Linked DNA regions of Homo sapiens: region 1 is linked to region 2. Evidence: promoter capture Hi-C in 16 types of primary human blood cells and fetal thymus (Javierre and others, 2016). All regions are on one chromosome and are shown on one strand. Each heading gives the region's core, a stretch centred on a gene start or on the middle of the fragment in contact. The rest is flanking DNA. Distances are from core to core; before and after follow the strand shown.

Region 1 (6,370 bases), core at 3,329-5,828, 280 kb before region 2:
GGCAGGAGAATTGCTTGAACCCAGGAGGTGAGGTTGCAGTGAGCCGAGATCATGCCACTGCACTCCAGTCTGGGCAACAGAACAAGCAAGACTCTGTCTCAGAAAAAAAAAAAAAAAAAAAAAAAAAAAATCAGCAACTTCCAAGTAATCCAAAGTCCACTTCTTGAAGTGACTATTATCTTACTCACCTGCTGCGAGTCTGCTGCTGTGCCAGGCTCAATTTTTTTCACCGTCTTCTCTAGTTCAGCCATCATCACACGGAAGAAAACAACAAAAGTATGCCTAGAAGACGGGAAAAGCATGCGTGCCCACACCATGATGCACTGCTTAGAACTACCTGGGAAGAACCAGGAACCAAAAGTAGCTTCCTTCCCTACCTCTCTAAATGTCCTTTCACTAGGGTCCTTAGTAAGAGGATGGGGGAGCGGAAAGGACTCAGTAATAAGCCCAAGAAGATTGCCTGTCAAACAATGGAATTAACTTTATGAAAGGAGGTGTTATGGTAGTATGGAAAAAGCAATGAAGTAACAGTGAGAAGATCTGAGTTTGAGTCCTGGTTCTATGTTTATTTTATTGCACGTGTAAGCTTGAGAAGTTCTCTAGCTCTCATTTTCCTCAGCAGTAAAATAGGGGCAATGATACCAACCTCACAGAATTATCAAAAGGATCAAATGAGATAAAGTGAAAGTGCTTTATAAACTGAAAAGACTACAAATGTTAAGATAACTATTGATATTCTGAGACACACACCCATTAAGTGAGACATACATGTGAGCACCCTGTTCTCAAGATGGCTAAAATATCTCAGCTGGGCACAATGGCTCATGCCTGTAATCCCAGCACTTTGAGAGGCCGAGGCAGGCAGATCACCTGAGGTTGGGTTCAAGACTAGCCTGGCCAACATGGTGAAACCCAATCTCTACTAAAAATACAAAAATTAGCCGGGTGTGGTGGTGGGTGCCTATAATCCCAGTTACTTGAAAGGCTGGGGTAGGAGAATCGTTTGAACCCAGGAGGTGGAGGTTGCAGTGAGCTGAGATTACGCCACTGCACTCCAGCCTGGGTGACAAGTTTTCTCAAAAACAAAACAAAACAATACAAAACAAAAACCACCATGGTCCTCTCAAATATATTAGCTGAGAGCCCTTGAAAGGAATGCATAACAGACTCTCTTTATTGAATGAATGATTATATCTACTGTCTGTATCAGAATTAGATGAGGAGGAGCAAGGCAGTTGTGTGGAAGCTATATACGTTGGACAGTGTGATTATGATTCTTTTTTTTTTTGAGATGGAGTTTCGCTCTTGCTGCCCAGGCTGGAGTGCAGTGGCGCGATCCCGGCTCACTGCAACCTCCGCCTCCCAGGTTCAAGCAATTCTCCTACCTCAGCCTCCTAAGTAGCTGGGATTACAGGCATGTGCCACCACGCCCGGCTAATTTTTGTATTTTTAGTAGGGACAGGGTTTCACTATGTTGGCCAAGTGGGTCTCAAAACTCCTGACCTCAAGGTGATCCTCCTGCCTCAGCCTCCCAAAGTGCTGGGATTACAGGTGTGTGCCACCGTGCCCAGCCTGATGATGATTCTATCTTAAGGGAAAAACTGGAGGAAAGAACTCCCTTACCTGGTCAGTGTAGGGAATGTGGAGGAAGATGCATCTTTAGGAGAGTTGATCAGTTCTGGGACACCAACACCAGCAATCTCCTCTATGGCCTTCAGAATGCTCTCTGTGTGCTCCAGGTAGATACTGCATTGAGAGTCAAATATTTGACCCACTAATTAACAAAGTAGAATACAACTACAGATTCCTCTAATTCCTCTATGATCTGAATTAACAATAAGCAGTTAGCTAACAGTATAAAACAGAACCAGAGGATCTTAAGATCCACATGTTCCAAATTGTGTTCATTTTTAACCTACTTCATTGTTTTCAAATTCCCACTAAAAAGGTCATTTGTCCAGTCTCTGACAAACAACAGTAGCAAAATAGAAAAAAGCTATTTGGCTCATTGGAAGAAACCAAACATCTCACCAGAGCAGAGCATGGAGCTGGTCATTAGAGATGTTGCTCTTCTCTTTATCCCCACTTGGCCACACCCGACAGAGGAATTGTCTGGCAAGGGAAGCTGTTAGAAAAGAAGACAAAGGAATCTTACATATGGGAACTTGACCTCATTCTTGCTTTTCAGGTTTTTGAGGATGATTATTGATCAAAAGGATTATTAGTTTAGATTTACTAAGACGTTCCCGGTCTAACAGGCAACTTACAAAAAGCTGTCACGTTCCTGATCCACTGGCCCTTTTGCCAGACATAAACTCATTTGCCTAAGGCTCAACACGTCCCACCCCAACCCCATCTTGAAACACACAAACATGCAAACATGAACATAAATACAGACACACAGAGAAAAGGAATGCTGCTGGGCAGTGGGAAGGCCAATCTTGTTCCTCCTGGGCTGGCCAATAGCAGTGGTCACCTCCAAGATTGAGACCAAACCTTCCCCTTTTAATCAATAGGGATAAATAAAGGTTTGTTTTGCATTTTTATCTTGCTTTCTGATGTGCTGCCAACTAGGATGAGCTGCATTCTAAGAGCTACAATAAAAGACAGTTTAAGAAAGAGGCCAGGGCTGGGCACAGTGGCTCACGTCTGTAATCCCAGCACTTTGGGAGGCTGAGGCAGGTGGATCACGAGGTCAGGAGTTCGAGACCAGCCTGACCAACATGGTGAAACCCCGTCTCCACTAAAAATACAAAAATTGGCTGGGCACGGTGGTGCGCACCTGTAATCCCAGCTACTTGAAAGGCTGAGGCAGGAGAATCGTTTGAACCTGGGAGGTAGAGGATTGCAGTGAGCCAACATCGCACCACTGCACTCCAGCCTGGGTGACAGAACGAGACTCTGTCTCAAAAAAAAAGAAAAAGGCCAGGGAAGAGGCCAGTATTTCTTTTATACTTGACCCTGATTTCTCCTTTATTTCCTACTTTATTAACCTCATGATTTATGTCTCGTTTTGTCAAATGTCTCAGATAAATTTTTTTTTTTTGAAAAGGAAGAACATGATTAAACTTAAGCCAAAGAGAAAACTATCTACTCAGCTTGTCTAACCAAACTCAGACTAAGCAATTTTAGCAGAAATCAGTCAGGTTGTTCTGGGAAAATGACCTTCTTGGTATAGCAAGAGGGCCTATCCAAGGTTATGTGGGGATTTACATGTAAAAATGTCCTGGGAAGCCCAAAGTTTGTAAGTGTGAGATATTAGTCCTATTCATTAAAAAAAAAAAAAAAAAAAGGATCTAGGCCCATCACCAATTTTTTCTTTGTTCTGAGCAGAAGCTGTTGATTTCTCCAAAATAACCATCAAAAGTCTGATGAGATAAAGAGCACACTGGAAACTGGGAATGCTTTGATGGAAATTCTGCAAGTAATGGACGCTCTGGCTGTAAGGAGACAAGAAAAACAAACAAATGCAATAGTATCCTATGTGTCACAGATATATTTAAATCCACATGACGTGCCCAAGTCCCTTTCAGTGTTTGACGGCCTAATCAGAATCCTCCTTATTTTCAGGTGCTTTAGTAGCAACCCTCTTCAAGCATCTTGGTAGAAAACCATACCTTTGTATGGAAAAAGCCAGGGCAGAAGACAGCCCCACTGATGGAATGTTGGCCTTGAAGGGGTCATGTATGCTGAGAAACCCAAGCACCACGCTAATATGTACAACCCTAGATAAATTATCTGCTCTTTAAAGCCTTAGGCAATACACTGAAAATAATTTGTAAAATCTGGGTTCACAGGCCGGGCATGGTGACTTATGCCTGTAATCCTAGCACTTTGCTAGGCTGAGACAGGCAGATCACCTGAGCTCAGGAATTAGAGACCAGCCTGGCCACATGTCGAAAACATCTCTACAAAAATATAAAAATTAGTAGGGTGTGTCAGCATGCGCCTGTAATCCCAGCGTCTTGGGAGGCTGAGGCAGTACAATCACTTGAGCCCAGGAGGTGGAGGGTGCAGTGAGCTGGGATCACTCCAGCCTGGGTGACAAAGTGAGACTCTCTCTCAAAGAAAAAAAAAAGAAGATATAAGGTCCTGACCTATAGACAGGGATGATAAGCACTGACTGCTGACCCAGTGATGGTCTAGGTTACCAAGGGAAGTGAGAGAAAGACCAAGTCACTCTGACTGAAGGGGGAGGGGGCCGAAAGCCATGCCCCTGAGATCATGTCACCTCCCTTGTCCACTGCCTACCCCTCAGCCACATAAGGTCTTCCTACAAGACAAGGGGAAAGAAACAGGCTATCAGTGATAACTAGCTGCTGCCTAATTACCCAAATCTGCTGGGAGACAGTAGGTCCCTGGATAATCAAGAGTTGATTACAGATGGTCAATGTTTTCATCATTATTACTTGAAAAGGCTGAGTTTATGGGCTGATGCATTCATGAAGATTTAGCATGATTATTCAAGGTTTCTAATACTTCAGGATTTATCAGAATACATAGATGAGAAAGCTCATATATGAGGAGAGTAGCTGAAAATAATTTCCTTTACAACTACTGAAAGACACCCAGGTTATTTTAAAGAAAGTTGCCAATCCTGTTCCTAGGAGTTTCTTGGGACAACAATCTTGGCTATGTAGTTATGACTCACCTGAGTAGTTCCTCCAAAGGCTGGCTGTGTTCTCCCTGTTTCAGTCGGCTACTAAGGACATGGAGGGCTGAATACAGTAAATTCTGATTTTCAGGTTGAGAAAATCCACTCCTAAGGAAGTCAAGGTAAGAGGGGTTAGCTTAGTTTCTGGAAAACTACTTGGATAGTATTTAAGGATCCTGGCCTCCAGTCTGTACCATCAATAGTTTAACGGTTTGAAAAAAGAATTGAGAGGTCGGGCGTGGTGGCTCACACCTGTAATCCCAGCACTTCGGGAGGCTGAGGCGGGCGAATAACGAGGTCAACACATGGAGACCATCTTGGCCAACACGGTGAAATCCCGTCTCTACTAAAAATACAAAAATTAGCTGGGTGTGGTGGCGGGCACCTGTAGTCCCAGCTACTCCAGAGGCTGAGGCAGAAGAATCGCTAGAACTCGGGAGGTGGAGGCTGCAGTGAGCCGAGATTGTGCCACTGCACTCCAGCCTGGCGACAGAGCGAGACTCCATCTCAAAAAAAAAAAAAAAAGAAAGAAAAAAGAAAAAAGAATTGAAATGGAAAGTACTGAAGTACCAAATTCAATCACAGCTCTAAGTATCAGAGTAGAAACTGAAGTACATCCAAAGTAATCTTTCCTGAAGTCTTCATAGGTTTCTTTTCTTCTTTCCTCTTTCTTTTCACAGGGGTGAGCCACCACGCCTGGGCCATAGGTTTACTTTGAAGGGCAAAAAGCTCTCCTTCATTCCCTATATTTTAGAGATATGTAGTCTTCTTCAAAAATACAGGAATAATTTTGTCAAACTGCTAAATCAATGTCCAGCCCATAGTGGTACTTACCCCTTCTCCTACATTAATGAGTCAAGTCTTGACATTTCTATCTTTGGATTACCTTTCATATTGTCCCTTCCTTTCCAAGCCTAGACCATCATTTTGGCCAGGCCCCTATCAATACATGTGTAGATCATAGTGACACCTTTTGAGTGTTCTTTTTTGCATCCCTTTTCAATCTGTCCTGCACTCTGCTGCCAGAAGTGTTTTCTTAAACCACTGCTTTCATTGTATTATGGCTGTGATCATAAAACTCCAAAATGGCTTCCCTGGACAACATTTAAATTATTCTGCCTGACCTTTGAGGCCCAGCACAATCTGACGTCCTAGATCTTCTCCTCTAGAAGCATCTTCCTGATCACCAGTGATAGTCATTCTTCCTTTCAACAAATGTATTCTGAGGGCCTATTAGGTGTCAGGTTTTTGGTCTACCATAGCTTCAATGAGATATAGTTGATGTACAATACACTTCATGTACTTAAAATGTTGAATTTGGGCCAGGTATGGTGGCTCACGCCTCTAATGCCAGCACTTTGGGAGGCTGAGGCGGGTGGATCACTTGAGCCCAGAGGTTCAAGACCAGCCTGGGGGCAACATGGCGAAACCCCGTCTCTACCAAAGAAAAAAAAAAGGAAAAATCAGCTGGGCATGGTGGTACATGCCTGCAGTCCCAACTGCTTGGGAGGCTGAGGTGGGAGGATTTATAGCCTGGGAGTCAGAGGTTGCAGTGAGCTGTGATTGTGTTACTACACTCCAGCCTGGGCAACAGAGCAAGACCCTGTCTCAGGGAAGAAAAAAAAAAAAGCCAGGTGTAGTGGCTCACACCTGTAATCCCAGCACTTTGGGAGGCTGAGGTGGGTAGATCACGGGGTCAGGAGTTCAAGACCAGCC
Region 2 (6,691 bases), core at 1,844-4,343:
GGCCCTCACCATCAGAGCATGTGTTCCATCTAGGTCATCAAATTTCAGTAAATCATCGAAGTCGAACAGCTGTGATGGCTGGAACTCCTCGTCCTCATCTTCATCCTCTGTGGATGCAGAGCCCAGAGCTGATGAGTTTCCTCTCCCTGACCCATAGCCCATAAGGCCTCAACTCTGGGACAGTGGGAACCAAAGGAAAAGGACTCAGGAGCAACAGCTGTGGAAAGGGAAGGAACCACTCACCATCCTCAGTGGTGTCACTGTCACCCATCGCTGAGCTATCCAGATCCTTCTGGGGTGGCAGCAGGGTGGGGCCTGAGCGATGGACCATCTTCTTCTCCACCCAGCCCCTCCGGCGCAAGAGACACCGGATCACCGGGTAGCAGCCTTGGATTGTAAAGATCTTCTTCTGCTGCAATGTGAGAGAAGGATACTTCTTCAATAAGTATTGCATAAGTGCCAGACATAGGGGATATAAAGGTGAACCAGACAGTTATGGACTCTGCCATCAGGAAATTTTTATATTCCATTAGGAGAAATAAACAGACTATAAATAAGTAGAGAAATAAATATGCATGGTAATAATGATAATAGCAATGGCTAATATTTATTGAGGACCTACTACATGCTGAGCACTTACATGCATTACTAACAATACTGTGTGTTTTTATTTTGTTTTGTTTGAGACAGGGTCTCACTCTGTTGCCCAGGCTGAAGTGTAGTGGCACAATCTCGGCTCACTGCACCCTCTTCCTCCTGGGTTCAAGCGATTCTCTTGCCTCAGTCTCCTTGAGTACCTGGGATTACAGGTGTATGCCACCACGCCCAGATAATTTTTTTTTTTTGAGACGGAGTCTTGCTCTGTTGCCCAGGCTGGAGTGGCACAATCTTGGCTCACTGCAACCTCCACCTCCCGGGTTCGAGCGATTCTCCTGCCTCAGCCTCCCCAGTAGCTGGGAGTACAGGCGTGTGCCACTGCGCCCGGCTAATTTTTGTATTTTTAGTAGAGACAGGGTTTCACCATATTGGCCACGCTGGTCTTGAACTCCTGGCCTCAGGCCAAGGCCCGCCTTGGCCTCCCAAAGTGCTGAAATTACAGGCGTCAGCCACCTCATCTGGTGCCCAAATAATTTTTATATTTTTTGGTAGAGACTGGGCTTCACTGTGTTGGCCAGGCTGGTCTCCAACTCCTGGCCTCAAGTGATCCTCCTGACTTGGCCTCCCAAAATGCTGGGATTACAGGTGTAAGCCACCGCGTCTGGCCAATACTATGCATTTTTATTAGATACTGTTATCTCCATTTTACGGGCTATGAAACAGAGGCATAGAGAAATTAAGCAGGGTGCCTGAGGCCCCATAGTGGTTAAGCAAAAGAGCAGGGATTTACATCCTGGCAGTTTGGCTCCAGAAACTGCATACTTAATGGGATCCAGAGAAACTACTTAGAAATACATGGTCAGGGAAGGTTGAAAGGAAGCCATGAATGTACAGAGCTGGGAAATGGCGGTTCAGGCAGAGGGGAATGCATGTGCAAAGGCCTTGAGGCTGGAGAGAGGTCAGAAGGAACTGAAGGGAGACCAGAGTGAGTGGAACATGGAAAATGATGGGGAAAGCCCCAGAGGAGGTAGGCAGTGGCCAGACTGTGGAAGGCCCTGCAGGCCTTGGAACGGACTTGGATTTCATACTAAGAGTGTCATGAGCAAAAAAGGCTAACTGAGGGAATCTTTCTAAGCTTGGCTTGCTGCTGTATTACAAAAAGATGAGGGGACAGGATGGAGGTAGACCAGCTAGGAGGCTGTCATAGTTTGCCTAGGAGAGAAATCACAATTACTAAAATGAAGGTGGTTACAACACAGACGGGAGAAGGTGCTAGAGTTGAGAATCGTTTTGGAGGTGGAGATGACAAGTGGTTTTGCTGATGGAATTAGACCTGTGGGTGAAGAAACAGAAAGATGAGATTTCTGGCGTGAGGAACTGAGAGATGGGAAAGACTGGAGACTGGGGAGGACGACAGGTTTGGGCAGGAAGATCAAAGTCTGGTTTGGGACATGAATTTGAAATGCTTGTTAAGTTTTCTGGGTGTAGATGACAGGTAGGGGCTAGATCTACGGGATGTGGAGTTCGAGGCTGGGCTGGAAGGGGCACGGAGAGGGTGCAGCACACTGACTGGACTCAGCCAAGGACACAGCCAAAGGAGACAGACCTGGGGAAGGGGCCAGGGGGCCACTAATGGCTGAGGAACCTTTAAAGGCCGCTGAAAAGCAGCAGCCAAAGAGGGAGAAAGGAAAACTAGGAGCGTGCAGTCAGACAGCCAAGAGGAAGGGTGTGTGGGGCAGCGGTGTCGAAAGATACAGGGTGCCCAACCGAGATCAAGACCGAAAGGCACTGCTGGGTTTGGCTCCCTGGAACTCACCAGGCACCTTGATTAGAGTGGGACATCGCAGGGAACCAGAGTGGAGGGAGCCCAGAAGTTTGGTGCTGAAGGGGTAAACGGGGAGGTAGTTGAAGATGGGTGTGGTGGTTGAGGATTTTTGCTATTGTTTTTTCTTTTGCTTTTGTTTTTTAAGGATATAAGAAAACAGCGCAGGGAGACAGGCTGAGCCGCTCCCAGGGCCCTTTCTAAGCGCCCCTGCCCCTCCTCTGACCTTGACAGCTCTCTCCACGTAGATTTTGGCGTTTCTGAGCCGGTTCATGTGAGACGCCTTGGAGGATCCTCGCCAGAGGACCGGGAAACCTGCAGAAAGATGCGGAATAGGGGCGGGGTACACTGAGGCTGGGCCTAGGGTCTCGGCCTAGGATCTTTTCTGGCCGCCCATAGCCACGCCTCTTTTCTTCCTCCTGCCTTCATCCAGATGCCCACCCTCAGCCGCTCTTCTCCCGACCCCCAGTCCCTCCACCCCAGCGTCTTGTCGTCCTCGCAGCCGCTGTAGGCCAGAGCGAGCGGGCCGCACGGGCCTCACCATCCTGCGGAGAGGGGTCGAGGACCGGGGTGTGCGGGGGGCCGAGGGGGTGGGTATCCGAGGCGCCCTGGGCGTGGGTGCCTGGGACCAGCGTCTTGAAGGCGCCGCTGAGGCGGCGCGCAGGGGCGGGGCTGCCCGCCTGGCATCTGCCGCCTGCGTGACCCTCCTCGGACTGGGCGGAGGCAGGGCCGGCCCATGGCAGCCTCCTGGGTGGACGGAACTCGGAGCGGCGCGCCGAGGGGAAACTGGTGCGTGGCTCGAGCGGCTGCGGCTTCCGCAGCCAGTTGCACACCGCGCCGCCCTCCTGGCGGTACCAGGAGGCCGAGCCCCGGCGCCCGGGCCCCAGCTCCCTCGCGCTCAGGAGCAGTGGCGCGTCGGGGCCCTGCATGCGCCCCTCGCCGCGCTCGCCCTCCCAGGGCCCCTGATCCCGCGCCCCTCCGCGTCGCCGCCTCCTCTCCCGGGAAGTTCCTGCCTAGGCTCGAGCCTTGTCCTCCGTTCCAAGCCCCGCCCCGTTTGCTATTGCCTTGGAAACCATTCCCTGGGCACCATCAGACCGCTCGGGGCTGGTTGGGGGCTGCGATGGGCCCCGGGGCAGTCGAGCGAGGGCTTCCTTATGACCTGGGGCCTCACCCAGACCCTTGATGAGCAGGGCACTGAAGGCGGAAGAGAGCACTGAGCCCCAGTTAGTTAGTGTTGCGGTTCCTTATCCAGTACTTCCTGGTGCCACCGGCCCTAGGGTTTGAGTGATTCCACAGTATTTATAGGCGCTAACAAATGGCCCCTGACCTCATGGAGCTTACTAAAAGCCCAGTGTGAGGGGAATAAAAAGCAAGTAACAAAGGAAGAGAATAGTTTACAGGTATAATAAGGGCAATGAACAAGCAGAGGTGAAACCAGGAAGGGGGCGCATTTTAGATAAAGTGGCGCATTTAAGCTGAAGGTGTAAATGCCAGGAGTCAGGAGTCACCAGGGAAAGGGGAGGAACTGCACTTCAGGGAAGGGACAGTCCCAGCAACAGCCCTGAGAAGGGTAAGAACCTCTGTGCGAACTACAAGACAGCCAGGGTGGCTGGAGCCTGGTGAGGCCAGATCAGACCTGCTGGGCCTGGCAGATGGGCCTAGGGTAAGGTCCTTAGCGAGGGCAGCATATGGGGGTAACAAGAAGGTGCAGAGCACACCCTCCCCAGAAACTGGAAATGGAAAAACAATCATTTGAGTCAACTGCGAAAGAAATGTAATAGTTCACAACAGTTATGCCTGGCCCCCAGGCTAAGACTGTAAGCAACCTTTTTGGAAGCACTGGCAAAATATTATCCTCAAAAGTCACAGGGGAGGTAAGGCTCCAAGATGTTAAACAATTTGCCTCAAATCACAGAGCAGAGGCAGCACTGGAACCCAGGTCTGACTCCAAAGCCTGTCTCTTAAACACCTGTTATCACTCAGGTTGCCTGCCAGTCACAGAAGGACCACACAGGGACAGTTTGAGAGGCAAACTCTAGCAGTGCCCCCGCAGGCAGAGTCGAAGAGTGTCCTGGTAAGAGCCCAGCTTTGTCAGTCACTGGGTAGATGTGCTCTTAAGAGTGAAGGTGGATCCCCCACCTTCCTGTCCAGCTGACCCCAACTCCCCTTTAGCTGATGGCTGGACTTCCCGAAAAGCATGCCCCCCAGGAAAGGTGATTTAGGGAATTTGGACCCTGGGAGAGAGATACATGACAAATGAGGTTTGTGGCTGGCTCACCCAGGCAATGCTGTCCTGTGAGGGTTGTTGAGTGACCAGCTGCTATATCCTATTAGTCACCCAGTTTCACTGTGAGCACCTTTAACATTCACTGCAAAGCTAGAACATAGCCATGTGCCCTGGAGGAGGGAACACCTAATTCAGAGGGGTGGCGAGGTAGGTCACAGAGGTAATGTCATAAAGGAGATGATAGCACTTTGGGAGGCTGAGGCGGGGGGATCACCCAAGGCAGCCGAGGCAACATAGTGAGACCTAAAAAAAAACAAAAACCAAAAACAAAAAAATTAGCTGGGCGTGGTGGCACAGGCCTGTGGTCCCAGCTACTCAGGAAGCTGAGGTGGGAGAATCACTTGAGCCTGGGGAAGCTGAGGCTGCAGTGAGCCATGCTTGCGCCACTGCACTCCAGCCTGGGTAACAAAGCGAGACCCTGTCTCAAAAATGAAAAAAAAAAAGGGGGGGGGAGGAGGGGGGCAATAGCTGTTCCAAGTTGCCCTTACCCCCTCCTCCCTTTAACATCACCTTGTCCACCCCATCAGAAGAAACCCCTCTGGCCATCTGGAGGAATCCCTTTTGAAAGCTCAGCTCAAAGGTTCACCCTTCTTGAAGCTTACCCTGACACCCACTCCTATATTTACCCCTTGGCCCCCAGACTTCCAATATTAAATATGAAACACTTCAGTGAACCTTTTACACACCCAGCCCTTTTCCTGGACCTCCAAGCCTCAAGGCAAGGATAAACATCATGAACACTGGAAATTATTCAACAGCCCAGCCACTGGGCTGGTGGAAAAAATATAGTTCAGTCAGTACCTGTGTAGCAGCGACCGTATCAGATTGTTTATATTCATTATCTCCACTTCATAGACTAAGAAACTGAGACACAAAATAGAAGTAACTTAGCCAAATCTGGCAAGAAGAATCAGGACTCAAACACAAGGGTCTTTTGTCTTTTTACTTCAAGGTGTTACTAAGGTCTAGTACTATCCAATGGAACTTTCTGCAATGATGGGAATCTCTATGTATGTGTTGTATATGCTGTATGTCTATATATGCTGTTATATATGGTACAGTCACTGGTAGCTGTTAAGTTGCCAGTGGGACTGGGGAACTGGATTTTAAACTTTATTTAATTGTAATAATTAAAATTTAAATAGCCACTTGTGGATGGTGATTACTGTTTTGGCACAGGCAAAAGTCTACTCTCTTGCTCACTGGCTAGATTTGGGGCAAGCTATTACATCTCATGTTTGGAACCTCAGTTTCCTTATCCACCAAATGGGAGCACTGTTTCTCTGAGGTTACTTTTTAGCCCAAGTAAGTTCCTTATGTGAAAAGCACCAAAGCTCTGTATAGGCAGACAGAGCAGTTTCAGAAATTAATGGTGCCTGGACTGCAATGAATGGAGTCTCTGGGTTGGGACCCCTGGCAGGAATAATGGCAGGACCAATCATGAGACTGCACCCAGTGGGGAGCTCCAGGCACAATTACCAGCCATCTGGTCTCAGGGAAAAGAAGCCCCACCTCCCCTCCTTTCACACACACACACAGCATAGACCTCATGCAGCCCCAAAGGGGCAAAAAGAGACTTTAATTAGGGGAGGGAGGATCCACCAGAATCAGAAAAGGGACAGCTAGCGTGGGAGCAGAGGAGCCAGAACAGGCAGGAGGAGGGCCCGGCCAGGAAGCTCTGGAGGACTCACCTCGCCACCTCTGGCACAGGCACTGGCACTGACGGACAAGGCGAAACAGCGGCCCCTCTCAACTGGGAGGGCACCCAATGGCCCCTGTAGCCAGAGGTTGCCCGGCTTTTGGGCCCCAGGTCCTAGGCATGACTGGTGGTCACCAATTTGGCCCTTGTCCCCAACCAGTGCTGGGGGGCCATCTTTAGGCAGAACTCAGGAAGCTGGCAGAGAGTTCCCAACACTTATACTGGGGCCAAGGAGGCTTGGGAATAAAAGGGCAAGGGAGAAACTGGAGTCTGAAACCTCCCTCCC

Evidence for each region. Contacts are between HindIII fragments. The CHiCAGO score rates a contact against its expected background, and 5 or more counts as called.
Region 1: a contact is called between a fragment that was not itself captured here and the fragment with the promoter of TTLL3 in region 2, in 2 of 17 cell types (monocytes and erythroblasts). The highest score is 6.4, in monocytes.

The regions. Positions count from the first base shown.
Region 1 is chr3:10,084,204-10,090,573 of GRCh38, reverse strand. FANCD2 (FA complementation group D2) reads right to left here. Exons shown (of 44, transcript NM_001018115.3): 33 at 4,652-4,762; 34 at 3,310-3,440; 35 at 2,032-2,125; 36 at 1,624-1,746; 37 at 189-282. It also overlaps a transcript of FANCD2OS not described here. Among named protein-coding and RNA genes, the nearest start is that of FANCD2OS, 21 kb to the left of the region's middle. The HindIII fragment of the contact is 7,979 bases long and covers 589-6,370 here.
Region 2 is chr3:9,806,664-9,813,354 of GRCh38, reverse strand. TTLL3 (tubulin tyrosine ligase like 3) reads right to left here and starts at 3,093. Exons shown (of 14, transcript NM_001387446.1): 1 at 2,961-3,093; 2 at 2,646-2,734; 3 at 244-412; 4 at 10-107. The coding sequence starts at 2,693. It overlaps ARPC4-TTLL3 (ARPC4-TTLL3 readthrough), which reads right to left. Exons shown (of 12, transcript NM_001198793.1): 5 at 244-412; 6 at 10-107. It overlaps ARPC4 (actin related protein 2/3 complex subunit 4), which reads right to left. Exons shown (of 6, transcript NM_005718.5): 6 at 6,254-6,691. RefSeq lists a silencer at 2,912-3,391 and an enhancer at 3,872-4,021. The HindIII fragment of the contact is 3,571 bases long and covers 1,735-5,305 here.